2 separate regions of the Homo sapiens genome follow, and region 2 is linked to region 1. Evidence: promoter capture Hi-C in 16 types of primary human blood cells and fetal thymus (Javierre and others, 2016). All regions are on one chromosome and are shown on one strand. Each heading gives the region's core, a stretch centred on a gene start or on the middle of the fragment in contact. The rest is flanking DNA. Distances are from core to core; before and after follow the strand shown. Region 1 holds the start of ZNF621 (zinc finger protein 621). Region 2 has its middle 19 kb from the start of EIF1B.

Evidence for each region. The method cuts DNA at HindIII sites, captures the fragments that hold promoters and counts their contacts. A CHiCAGO score of 5 or more calls a contact.
Region 2: a contact is called between a fragment that was not itself captured here and the fragment with the promoter of ZNF621 in region 1, in 1 of 17 cell types (megakaryocytes). The highest score is 5.1, in megakaryocytes.

Annotation. Positions count from the first base shown.
Region 1 is chr3:40,522,075-40,529,178 of GRCh38, forward strand. ZNF621 (zinc finger protein 621) reads left to right here and starts at 2,886. Exons shown (of 5, transcript NM_198484.5): 1 at 2,886-3,200; 2 at 3,705-3,790. The coding sequence starts at 3,767. RefSeq lists enhancers at 2,488-2,577, 2,856-3,668, 3,228-3,367 and a silencer at 2,768-2,927. The HindIII fragment of the contact is 8,303 bases long and covers 1,887-7,104 here.
Region 2 is chr3:40,325,653-40,332,756 of GRCh38, forward strand. No RefSeq gene overlaps it. Among named protein-coding and RNA genes, the nearest start is that of EIF1B, 19 kb to the left of the region's middle. The HindIII fragment of the contact is 1,671 bases long and covers 3,157-4,827 here.

The sequences.
Region 1 (7,104 bases), core at 1,636-4,135:
TGTCTGATACTCTAGAGTTTGTGGTGTAAAAATGTGTACATGTATGTACACCAATATATGTGTGTCCATTTCTCTAGATTCATGGTAGATACTCTTTTTGATAGGCTTAGAGAAGGGGCAGTGTATAAATATATGTTCTAATGCTATTGTTCTTGGAAATCTAATTCATCTATTTAAAACAATTGTGCTTCATAAATGTTACAATAAAAGTACTATAGATTATAGAAAGGACTGTTTCTGTGGTAGGTAAAAAATGTGTTTAGCCAGCTCCCAAAATGGTCCCCAGTGATTCTCATTCTGGCATTCACACCCTTGTGTATCCAACACTGAATCATGACTGGCCTGTGATGATAGTATATTGAGGAAATGACAGAGTGTGACTTCCAAAGCTAGGACATAAATGATATTGCCACTTCTGCCTTGACCTCTTGGGTTACTCACCTGAGATGGAAGTGGAAGTCTGCTCCTGTGTTGTGAGGATACTCAGCCATGTACAGATACGCGGTGTGCGAAGGGAGGCTTCTTTTTCTTTTCTTTTCTTTTTTTTTTGAGACAGTCTTGCTCTATATCCTGGGCTGGAGTGCAGTGGCGGGATCTTGGCTCACTGCAACCTCCGCCTCCTGGGTTCAAGTGATTCTCCTACCTCAGCCTCCCAAGTAGCTGGGGTTACAGGTGCCCGCCACCACGCCCAGCTAATTTTTGTATTTTTAGTAGAGACAGGGTTTCGCCATGTTGGCCAGGGTGGCCTCAAACTCCTGACCTCAGGTGATCTGCCTGCCTTGGCCTCCCAAATTGCTGGGATTACAGGTCTGAGCCACTGCACCCGGCGCAGGAAGGGAAGTTTCACACTAATAGCTGGCATCTATGTGCCAACCATGTGAGTGAGTTACCTTTGAGGCAAATCCCCAGCCTCAGTCCAACTTTCAAGTGACTGCAGTCCCAGGTGACACCTGACTAGACCCTCATGAGAGATCCCAAGCCAGTACCATCCAGCCAAGCCACTCCCGAATTCCTCATCCACAGAACCTTTTTTTTTTTTCCTTTTTCTCTTTTTAGGACTGACTGACTATGTTCACTGATTCATAGAAACTTTAAGAGATAATAAGTGTGTTTTGTTTTCAGCCATAAGGTTTTAGGGTGATTTGTTATGCAGCAGTAGATACCTAAGATACTCTCCATAATAGGACTTCATAAGTCAGTCTAATTCTTAAGAAAGGAATAACAAATCCAAGAAGTGGGACCCCTGTAATAAAGCAATATATCTAGATATCCAGGATCATTTTTTATCTTTTAGTGGTGGGAGACCAATTCCCCTTTATAGCATGGAAATGCTTGGTGGTGAGGAGCCTGGTATCTGGAACTGTGTTCAGGAGAAGTTATCAGCGTGATTAAAGTAAAACAAAGTCTGGGCCGGGCGCGGTGGCTCACGCCTGTAATCCCCAGCACTTTGGGAGGCCGAGGTGCACGGATCACAAGGTCAGGAGATCGACACCATCCTGGCTAACACGGTGAAAACCCGTCTCTACTAAAAATACAAAAAATTAGCTGGGCGTGGTGGCGGGGTGCCTGTAGTCCCAGCTACTCGGGAGGCTGAGGAAGGAGAATGGCGTGAACCCAGAAGGCAGAGCTTGCAGTGAGCCGAGATTGCGCCATTGCACTCCAGCCTGGGCGACAGAGCGAGACTCCGTCTCAAAAAAACAAACAAACAAAAAACAAGCAAAAAAAAAAAAAACAAAGTCTGTCCATCTTAGCAACCACTTTGATACTGGAGAAAGGCTCCTGTCCAGAAGGAAGGGCACAGTAGTGAGGTACTTGCCAATGAGCTGGGTAGAGCTGCCACTGGCTGGCTTCGGGAAGTGTTTATCACTGACTGGCTCATGTTCAGAAGCTTGGAGTGAGGCTGTTGTGTACTGGTTGATTTTCAGAGTACGTGTACTGATCTAAAATTATGTAAATTAATGGCAAGTACTTGTTAGTGACTTGGGACTTTGGTCAAAAAACAGTCTTTTCCTTTCCTGAATATGAAAAGTAAGTTCTTTTAATTAGCAGCCTCCCCTCTTCACTGTTTTTTCTTCCTGCAGTCCAACTAACAGAACAGACCATAAAGGTCTGTCCAGATCATTATTTATGGAAGTATGAGATATATATATTTCAGCTGGTGTTAACATTTTATTTAAGTGCCAGTTACTGAGCAGAAAAATAGCTGTAACTACGAGTTTTTGTAATTTATTGGAAAAAGCTAAATATAAGACATTTAGGGTGTCCTCCCAAAGTCAACACAGGACAAGATCATTTAATATAGGACATGTCCTGTGTATACAGGATGCCTAGCAACTGTATGTAGCCACGGGTGTTTTGGTTGTTAAATGAATCTGTCCTAAAAGGTTCTACGCACATCTAGGTCCTTGGAAGGGAGAGGGCTAAAACGGCGAGTGGAAACCATGGTTTCCCTGAGGACTGCCCAGCTGAGGACCCAAGCAAGATCCTGGGCTTGGGCCTCTTAGAGATGACAAAGCAGGCGCCATTCTCCCCTCACCTGCACGGCCCAGGCTTCAGGTGAGCCACGGGGCCAAGGCGGCCAACAGCTGAGGCGCAGCCCGTGAACTGGGGGCCCACTTGTGCCTAGAGGGCGAGGTCTCGGTAGAGCCAGGCTGTATCAGTCCGTGACACTCCAGCCAGAGGCGATGCCGACGGCTGCCGGAGAAAGCCGGGCTTAGAGCGCCACAGTTCCACGCCCGCCGCCGGCCTCTCAGCCCAGCCGGTCGCCGCAACCTCGCCTCTTCCGCAGGGCGGGGCCAGCCATGAAAGGCGGGGCGGGTCTGGCCACGGGGCGACCGAGATGGCGGCCTCCGGGGGCCTAGAGGGACCCTGGGCGTGCACTCGCCCTTCCGGCTCGGCCTTTAGTTAGTGACCAGCTCCTCGGCGTTCTGCAGAGCGTGGGTTTCAGCGAGTTCTACGTGCCAGGTCCGCCCGGTGCCGGCTTCCTCGCTGCCCCTGGCGGCTCGTCAGCCCCCACTACCCCTGAACTTGGTCCCAATGGCGGCCCGCCCCTCCTTCACCCGGACCGTGGGCATCTGGGCCTCGCCGAAGCCGTCAAGGTGGCTGCTCGGGCTTCTAGAGCCCGTGTCCAGCCCTTTGCCACCGAGGCCTGATCCTCTTTTCTGCCCTAAAGAACTTGCCCTGACAGCCTCTGGCTCCCGGTACTGACGTTTCTGATGTTTGGGGTTGCCTGTTTTCTTGGGTGGAGTGTTAAGATCACGGTTGGGTGGGGTCTCCGGTCAGCATCACCCACTGGGACGCTGAGTATTTTACCCTTAATCCGCATTCAGCCACCCCAGTCCCTCTTCTCCTGAGGTTCTTTCTTTTGGGTCCACGTCATCGTCCCTGTAAGCATTCTGTAAAGACTCTTTACGTTTGTAGAGACCCAACACAATAGGGACAGGGCTCTTGGGTCCCTCAGTTTACCCGTACGAATGGGCTCAAAAAAAGCTCTTCGGACTGAGCAGGCAGGTGGAAGATTGTCCTGAAGACTAGGCAGAACAATTCATAAGAAGTTTGGGGCTATCAGCGTGAGAACAATTAGAGGGAGTCCTAGTAGAATCTCCGTGCATCCAGTGCTGGAAATGTGGAAACTGGGAGGGCCATAGGTTGCTGTAGGTGGTGGACGACAGGGTCCTTAGCACTCATGGCTCTTTTTCTCTTAGCTCTTGAGGATCTTGCTTGTCCAAACCCAGAAGACAGTGCATGAAGCCAGGGGACATCCGCCATGCTCCAAACAACTTGGCCTCAGGTGAGCTGAGCTTCTTTCAGTTTTTTTGTTTGTTTGTTTATGTTTTTTTACTCACATTAGCTATCAGATAATCAGGAAAGGATGAGGAAGGCCTAACTTGGCCAAGCTGTGTTTTCCCCTTTGTATCTATCTCCAGGGCTATGGCAGATGTAAATATGTGCTGGGGAAATGAAAGTTTTGTGTATAGAGAGTGATGAGTTTGGATGTATAGATTTAAATGGAAGAAAGGGGACCTATACCAAGAAATTCTTTCTGAATGTGGAAATCCAGATCGTGTTCTAGAAATGAAAGTCACCTACTGAAATCAGACTCATTTTTTGTGAGACGGAGTCTCACTCTGTCGCCCAAGCTGGAGTGTAGTGGCACTATGATATCGGCTCACTGCAGCCTCTGCCTCCTGGGTTCAAGTGATTCCCATACCTCAGCCTCCTAAGTAGCTGGGATTACAGATGTGCGCCGCCACGTGTGGCTAATTTTTGTATTTTTAGTAGAGACGGGGTTTACACCACGTTGGCCAGGCTGGTCTTGAACTCCTGAGCTCAGGTGATCCACCCGCTTCGGCTTCCCAAAGTGCTGGGATTATAGGCATGAGCCACCGCACTAGCTTGAAATCAGAAATTCTTTATTGGAGAGATTGCCCACAAATTGTATTGTATGTATCCCAGAGAGACTAGTATTGTTGCTTTAATATACATTTTCTAAATGCTAGATGCAAGGACTCTGAAGTTGCAGAGAAAGCTGGATGTACTCTAGAAACTGGAAGGGGTCAGAGAAAGTGGTTCAATATGAGATGGAAGAAATAGATACCTGTATTATAGGTCATGGTGAGGACAGTGGTTTCTGTACTGGTTCATTGGGAAGGCACTGAAGAATTTTAAGCAGGGGGATGACATGGTTGGATTTACATATTAAAAAGATTTTCCTAGCCCTTAGTGGCAAATTGATGGTAGAAAGGTGTTGGTCAATTAAGAAGATATTAAGTGTTGTCCTTTTATTTTTTTTGTTTTTGAGACGGAGTTTCGCCTTTGTTGTCCAGGCTTGAGTGCAATGGCGCTATCTCGGCTCACCGCAACCTCCACCTCCCAGGTTCAGGCAATTCTCCTGCCTTAGCCTCCCAAGTAGCTGGGATTACAGGCATGCACCTGTTTTTTGTTTGTTTGTTTGTTTTTTTGAGATGGAGTCTCACTGCAACACCCAGGCTAGAGTGCAATGGTGCGATCTTCGCTCACTGCAACCTCCACTTCCCTTGTTCAAGTGATTCTCCTGCCTCAGCCTCCCGAGTAGATGGAATTACAGGTGCCCGCCACCACGTCCGGCTAATTTTTGTATTTTTAGTAGAGACGGGGGTTCTCCATGTTGGTCAGCTGATCTCGAACTCCCGACCTCAGGTGATCCGCCTGCCTCAGCCTCCCAAAGTGTTGGGATTACAGGCGTGAGCCACTGTGCCTGGCAAGTGTTGTCCATTTTTAAATTTTTTTTTTTTTTGAGACAGAGTCTCACTCTGCCACCCAGGCTGGAGTGCAGTGGCATGATCTCAGCTCACTGCAACCTCCACCTCCCGGATTCAAGCAATTCTCCTACCTCAGCCTCCTGAGTAGCTGGGATTACAGGTGCACACCACCATGCTGGGCTTATTTTTGTATTTTTAGTAGAGATGGGGTTTCACCATGTTGGCCAGGCTGCATTTTACTTTTTAATGTAATTAATTTATTTGTAGTTTTTATTTTCTGGAGCAGTTTTAGGTTCACAGCAAAATTAAATGGAAGGTACAGAGATTTCCCATATATTCCCTGCCCCTACACATGTATATACAAGTTCTGATAGAAGTTCAAATACAAGTCTGGTATCAGCACAGTAAAATGTCAGTGTCTTTAAAAGAATGGAAATGCTTTTTTTCTTTCCTTATTCTCTGATATGTCCTAAACAGCATATGTGGTTTGATTGAGAAATAACTTACCCTGAAACGATTCAACACTGGTACTTAAAATAGTTTTTTAGAGCAGTTTTAGTTGATAACAAAATTGGGCAGAAAGCAAGAGTTCCCATTTATCTCCTGCCACCACAAAACACACAACCTTCTTCAATATTAATATTCCACACCAGAGTAACACGTTTGTGACAAGGAGTGAACCTACACTAACACATCATTGTCATCCAAAGTTGATAGTTTACATTAGGGTTCACTCTTGATGGATGACACATATCCACTATTATAGTATTATATAAGCAGAATAGTTTCACTGCCCTAAAAATACCTTATGCTCCTCTTATCCATCCTTACTTTCCCCTTAGTCCCGTCCCAATTGACAACCATCAATTGATTTTTGTATTCTCTTCATAGTTTTGCCAGTTCCAAAATGTCATATAGCCAGAATCACACAGTACGTAGCATTTTCAGATTGACTTCTTTCATTTAGTGGTAATGCATTTCGTTTCCTCTGTGTCTTTTCATGGCTTGATAGATCGTTTTGTTTTAGTGCTGAATAATATTCCATTGTCTATATATACTACAGCTTATCCATTCACCTACTGAAGGACATCTCGGTTGCTTCCAAGTTTTGGCGATGATGAATAAAAGCCCCTGTAAATGTCCATGTACAGGTTTTTATGTGGACATAAGTTTTCAACTCCTAAATTTAGTTAAGCACCAAGGAGCATGACTGCTGGGTTGTATGGTAAGAGTGTGTTTAGTTTGTAAGAAATTGACGAACTGTCTTCCAAAGTGGCTGTCCCATTTCGCATTCATTAGCACCAGCAGTGAATGAGAGTTCTGTTGTTTCACATCCTGGCCAGCATTTGGTGTTGTCAGTGTTTTGGATTTTGGCCTTTCTAATAGGTATGTAGTGGTGTCTCACTGTTTTTATTGCAATTCCCTAATGACATATAATCTTGAGCATAGTTTCATATGCCTATTTGCTATCTGTATATTTGCTTTGTTGAGGTGTCTGTTGAGGTCTTTTGCCTGTTTCTTAATTGGCTTGTTCATAAAGAGTTCTTTGTACATTTTGGATAATAGTGCTTTATCAGATATGTCTTCAGCAAATATTTTCTCCTAGACTTTAGCATGTCTTCTCATTTTCTTAATGTGTTATCCTTTTAAAATACAGTTTAATTCCCCCTCATTTTGTTTTCAGTTGTTTTCTCCAAAACATTGTTTGCTAGTTTTTCACACATGCCTGTAATCTCAGCCTGGGTGCCAAGCTGTAAGAATCAGCAGCAGTTACGGGCTCCAGAGCTGGGTAGATGGGAGAGTGTTGGGGCTCCCCATTTGAAAGTGGAACTACTGGCTGAGGGCTCGCCCCTGGCTGTGGTGG
Region 2 (7,104 bases), core at 2,742-5,241, 200 kb before region 1:
GTTCCAATAAAACTTTATTTATAGACACTAAAATTGCAATTTTATATAATTTTCAGATGTCACAAAATACTATTCACCTTTTGATTTTTTTTCACTAACCATTTTTAAATGGGGGATAATTCCTTTCTTAACTATAGTTAACTATACTTTTTGGACCACATGAAAACAATAGGTAGGACAGAATTTAGTCTGAGATCCACAGTTTTCTGACCCTGGATTTAATGTGACACAGGAATCATGGCACTTGAAGGAACCACACACTGAACCAAGAACTTTTGATTAAGCAGCTCATTCCAATTAAAATAGTATTTGCAGCACCACAGTTGGCCTCAGGTTTTAACCTGAAGCCCCTAAAAGTAGGTTAGCCCAGTAACAGTGGATAAAAGCCTATTTAGAGAGACATTTCCAAAGCATGCCAGAGAGAGACCTGAGTTAGAGGCCACTTGGCCTTAAGGTCCTTGGATATTTTCCCCAGGTGGTCAGGGCCATGTTAGTACCTGTGTCCGAGGACCGAAATTGCCTCCATGGATTCCAGAGTTGCAACACACATCCTTGTTCAATTTAGAGAGGGAGAGAAAAAAATAAAACATCATTCAGAATTGCCTTTTTGACACAGGCAGTGTTGGTGTCATGAGGACTTTTTGCTAAAAGGCCTAGATTCTGTCCTGGCTCTGCTGTCAGCTCCTGTGACCAGGAGACGCTCTAAGCCCTGACTGCCCAGTCAAAATCCTGGTGCTGTTGATTTCTAGCTGTGCCATATTAGAAATCAAAAAGCCTCAGTTTGTTGATTTCTAACAAACTGAGAGATACCTCCATTTCCATATATATAAAGTGGAGATATATCTCCCAAGCCTCTGTTTCCATACCTATAAAGTGGAGATGATGATGATAGCCTCAGGGACTCATTGTGGGGATTTTATTGCATAGTGCTTTGCACATAATATGCATTTAACAAATGTTAGCTTTTCATTATTACATATCAAGGGAGAAAACATTGGTCATGCTATCTTTATGGAAATCAAAGAGGAAAGGATATGAAAATGTGAAAGGGTGAGATCTAATGTGGAATTTCAATCGTCTTTTTACAAGCAGAGCTGTGGAACCCTGGGACTAACCCTTTGTAGTTATAGCTCCATTTTTTTTTTTTTGGCAACTTTTCTCTTTTTTTTTTTCTTGATCAGTGTTGCCAGAGGCTTATCAGTTTTTATTCTTTCATCTTTTCAAAAAACCAACCTCTAGCTTTAGTGATTCTTCCTATTACATGCTTATTTTCTGTTTTATTAGTTTCTTCCCTTATGAGTTTTCTTCCTCCTACTTTCTTTGCATATTCTTTTTGTAACTTCTCAATTTAGTTGCTTAGCCCATTAACTTTTAACTTCTTTTCGAATGTAAGCACGTAAGGATGTAAATTTCCCTTGCGCAGCCTGCAGATTTTGATATTTAGTATTTTTGTTAACATTCACGTGCAAACATTTTCTTTTCTTTCTTTCTTTCTTTTTTTTTAGACGGAGTCCCGCTCTGTCGCTCAGGCTGGAGTGCAGTGGAGCGATCTCAGCTCACTGCAAGCTCCGCCTGCCGGGTTCACGCCATTTTCCTGCCTCTGCTTCCCGAGTAGCTGGGACTACAGGCGCCCGCCACCACGCCCGGCTAATTTTTTGTATTTTTAGTAGAGACAGGGTTTCACCGTGTTAGCCAGGACGGTCTCGATCTCCTGACCTCATGATCCGCCCGCCTCGGCCTCCCAAAGTGCTGGGATTACAGGCGTGAGCCACCGCGTCCGGCCTACATACAACCATTTTCTAATGCCTGTTTAATAAGGTGTCCTCCACTCCTTGGGGAGCTCTGTGGTCTATCGCCCTGCTCAAAGCCTTCAGAAATACGCAGTGCTGTTGGCATCCTCCTCAACCTTGTTCGTTTTCACTACTTGTGGCAAAACTAATTCAAATATTACATGTGGATATAATTAGGTGTTAACTGATTTCCTTGAAGACAGCATTAACTTTCCACTTTCTCATTATCTTGGGTGTTTCTATGCCTCACAGTGTGGCAGGGATATTTTTACTCTGCTTTAGTTAACCGCAAATCCACAGGTGTGTTTTGTACTTTCACTAGTTGAAAACTGGTAGATGCAGTACTCACACATGGCCAAGAGATGGTGCTATTGACCCATTTAGGTCCAGCCTTTATGTTTTGTATGCTGTAGTCATCTAATTTGCTTGCTTGTCTTTGAGTTTGTTTCAGAGAAAAGGTCCAACATCAGAAGAGTTGAGAGGTTATATGATACTGGCTAAACTCTTAGATCCTCTAGGCACTCAAGAAAAAAACATAACAAATAAAAACTCTGGTTTTAAAGATGCAGAGAAATGTCTGGCAATGCACCCTCAGGGGACCTCTCATTCCAGAAGTCTAGAAACCTCCCAGAAGGAAGAAGCACTTGCTTTCCTGTGTCCCTATGTTTGCGAAAGCTACTCAGCCATTCCCTGGAGAGGTTTCTCTTGGTGCAGTCTCTCAGCTGACGTTTTGGATCACAAATGAGCAGTCCGCACATAACTCAATTTCAAGAGTTAAAAATCTTAGCCTTTAGTTGGGAACAATTTTCCAACAAACAGGATGTGGAAGTGATGTTATCTGAGGGAAGACATGGTGCCTCTGAGCTGTTAGACCTTTCCAAACTACACATATGCCTGGCCTGTGTTCACAAGTATACACACACACACACACACACCCGCCCCCCCCCCACACACACACTCATTCCCCTTCTCTCTCTCAAGTGACCTGATCTCCAATCCCTCTGCAGCCTCCTGAGGGCTTCTTATTCTTTAATATGAATGAGAGTCACCAGGCAAGTTTATTAAAATGCAGATTCCAACTCAGGAGGCCTGGAGTGGCCCAAGGCTCTGCATTTTTAACAAGCTCCCAGGGGATACCGGCCATCTGGGTTTGCAGGCCACATTCTGAGGAGTAGAGGTTCGTGGCAGTGCAGAGTGGCATAATGACAGGCATCAATGTGGTTGATTCAGAGATGCCCCAGTGTTACCGGATCAAACCCAGGGTCGGGCTGCTTATTCTCAAGGCCCAGTAATGAGATGCAGATGAACTGGGAGAGAAGAGAATTTATTTCTGTAACCGGGTAGGCAGACCAACTTAAAATTACAAAGCTTTCCATTGTTTATATACCTTCTAAGCTATATGTCTATGTGTAAGTGCATTCATCTAAAGACATAAGTGGTTAACTTCTCCTAATATAACTAAGGTCTGAGTTTTGAAGACCTTTCTCTGGAGCCTCAGTAAATTTACTTAATCTAGATGGCTCCAGGTGCCGGAGTGATTACCCTTATCTCGTCTCCTGCTAAATCATGGAGGTTTGAGGAGTTCCTTTAGACCATCCTCCCCACCCCCCTGCCCAGTAAAACTTGTTTGTGGAGGTCTGGGGAGTTTCTTCAGACCCCCAATAAAACTTGTTTAATCCTACATGGGTCCTGTTAAGAATTCCTTCGTTATCGTGTCAGGCTTCAAGGCCCAGGAAAGGCCTAGGCAAAACTCTTGGTGGGCTTTGTTACATTCCAGCCTTTGCATAAGGAGACTGGCTCTATTAGCTTTTAATATTTAACCTAACCACTCAGTCAGTGCCGCAACAGTTGTCATGGAGGCTTGCCTGTTCAGCTGTTAGTGAGACCTGGCCTGCCATGCCAGGACTCAGAATCAGAAGCCCTGGATTCAGATTCGGGCTCTACCACTTTCCAGCTTTATGGCCTGATCAAGCCAAAGCCAGCCAGTCTCTCACAGCCTCAGTTTTCTCAGCAGCAACTTAAGGATAATTGTGCCTCGGATCAGAATGACTATTCTCGGCACAAAATGAGATGATGTGTATGGCATCAAATTCAATGCCTTGCCATAGAAAGTGCTTGGTTATGCTTTTTAGGAAATGTGAGACTTACGCATAAAATGGCAATGTGAATACTGGAGTTGAACACCTGGAGCTACTTCTAGTGCCTCATGGAAATGACCTATGGAATCATTTTCTAAACTTCCTTGATCATTAAAATTACCAGGACACTGTGAAAAACACAAACTCTTAAGACCTGTCATCTCCCAGATCCTGAACTCGAATCTCTGTGGAGGAGAGGGGCTTACATTTCTAACAAGTGCTCAGAAGGATTCGTGAGATCAGGCATGTTTGAAACACTAGCCTACAGAATATAAAAATATGGAAAAACCTGCCTTCATTCTGGAAACTAGAAAAAGGTACCCTGTATCTGTCTGAAACAGCAGCATTTTTCTGTTATCTATCATAAGGATGGGGCCAAAGGCAGCCTAGAAAGACAGCTCCAACACTCTAGTGAAAGATGGAAGTAGGAGAAAGTGGGGAAGACCAGTCACCAAACAGACCCCTACAAAGCCCTTGACTCAGAGGGCTGCAGGCAGGCCTGGAGGGGCCTCCAGGCTTCCATCCAAGGGGTATCTGCACTCCTGGAAGGCAGGGAGTGGGGCTTCCTGCTTGGCAACAGGGGAAACCACATGCACTGAAACCCTCATCTGGGGTCTGCTTCTCCTGGGAGGATGAATATAGGGAGGAAAATCAGCAGGATCACGAAGACATTACAATGTTGTGCACACCAAAATTTAACATAAGAATTCCCTTCCCTCTAGCAATTCACTTCTGGGAATTTATGACAAGTAAACAATCAAGCCGTGGGACAAAATTGAATGCATTCAGATGTTCAATGCACTATTGTTTATAACACTGAAAATTTTGAAACAACAGGAGAATGGTTAAATCAATGAGAACTGAAAAGGATTTAGGCAGGCAAAGAGTGGGAGGTGGCAAGCTTCAGAAGGAGGGCTTGGCAAACGCAAAGTCTTCCCGTGAGAAAGCAGTGGACCTGAGTGATTGGAGCACAGGATGGGGACATAGGTTGGCATGAGAGGAGTGAAGCTGAGAAGCAAGCCAATTAGACAGGGCCTCACAGACCATGGCAAGATGCATGAATGCTATCTGAGGGCATTGATGAGTTCCAAGCATGGGAGCAGAACAATTGGATTTATTCTAAGAAGCTGATTATGGCTGTTAGTCAGAGAGAGGAACGTACAGAAAGCAAGAGCAGAGGCGAAAAGGCCAATGAGAGGCTACTACACGTGGAATGATGGTGGTAAAGAGGCAGAGAAGTGGGTGGACAAGAGACTCGCTTGGAGATAGAATTAACAGGACTTGCTGTTGTGTTGGCCATAAGTGGCAAGGAAAAGATGACTTCCAGGATTTTATCTTTGGAAATTGGGTGGCTGGGAGTGACATTATTAAAATGAGGGAGGCTGGGGTAGAAAGACAGGATTGAGGAGTGGAAACAAGAATTCCATTTTGAACATGTTGAATTTTTTTTTTTTTAATAGAGACAGGGTCTCACTATGTTGCCCAACTGGTCTTAAAATCCTGGGCTCAAATGTTCCTCCCACCTCAACCTCCCAAAGTGCTGGGATTACAGGTGTGAGACATCACACCTACCCTGAACATGTTAAGTTTTAAATGCCTAAGAGACATCCAATCAGAGATGTCAAGCAACTAGTTGGATTTGTAAGTCTGGAGCTCAGAGAAGACATAAATTCAGGAGGTATCAGCCCATAGAATATTTTTAAAGCCATGAATGAATGAGTTTCTTTAGGAATGTATAAAGAGGGCCCAGAAGAAATCCATATGGAACACTAAAAACGCTAGTTTTGAAGAAGTATATCTGGTGTGACATCATTTTGGTTAAAAAACAAAGCCCCAAAATTCCATCATAACATAAACGCAGAAGATATCTGCATAAATAAATATTCATCTAACGGTTTATGGGGGTTATCTCTGGATAGTTGGGAGCAAAACGCTCATTGACACCCATGAAAGTCAGGTCTATGCCCAAGAACCTTTTTGCACCTGGTCTTTCCCAAATGGCTGCTTAAGGGACCCAGGAGGAGGAGCCTGGAAGTTATGGTGCCCGATTTGATGATGAACCTAGGAGAAGCCACTCTGCATTTGTTACCCAAGGGAATAGGAGGAATGGGAGGGCTTTCATTTTCTCAGTTGTATATTTCTGTCAACATTAAAACTTTTATAAAGAACATCATTATTACTTTTGTAGATAGAGAAAAACAATAAATAAAATTATTTTAAATGGTGGCATCCATTGTTGGTGAAGCCACTGTACAGTGGAAACGCACATCTCTTTGGAGAAAATGTGAATTGGTATGACTTTCTGAAATGACATTTGAATGAATTTGAATGAATTTCATGCAAATGAAATTTTATGTCAAGCTCCTTAAAATGTTCATATCTTTTCACATTCAGGCACCTATGCTAGGGAAATAATCAGAGATGGGTGTTAGGAACCATGGAAAGATTTCAGTAGTTTTAAGATAACAATTTGGCCTGGGTCCATGAACCCTACAAATGCCCCCAACTTGGCTGGGTCCAGCCATCCCTTATCTCCATAACATCTTTAAGGGAGCTGTACACACAAGGAACAAGGAATGTATGGGACACCAAATGACCACTGACGATTCCCTACCTCATGTCTGCACCTTTGCCTGCAGAACTCCATGGAGTGCGTGCTTCTTAGCCCAAGGCCCCAGGGAAGTTTCTCCCAAGCCCAGTTTCTGGATGAATACACATGAAATGGTGAGGTGGCTGAGTCCACTCTGGAAGACCGGGCCTCCTTGCGTGGTTGAGAGGAGAACATCAGAGACAGGGACCATGCTCAAATGCACCAGCTTTTAATAACTGGGTTTGGTACCATGGCTTGTCACCCCACTCCACCCCAACCACCAGAATAAAAACGTATTATTAGACTCTAGCAGAGGCCGACTCACCCTGAAACAAACACACTGGGACTTTCTGGTGCCTCGCCTGTCCAGGCCTCCTCCTTGCCCCTGAGCCTAGTATTGCATTCATTCATATGCTTTTATTCCTTTCTTAAAGGGGGTCTCTAAAACTGCATAAGTCTCAGGTCCCAGCAGACTGGGATGTTCTTGCTTTCAGAAATTTGAGATGGGAAATAAGAAAATAATCCAGCCGTTGGTGGTAGGAGCTGCAGCTGTCTGAAAGGAGGGATCATGAGGGACCCTGAGGAG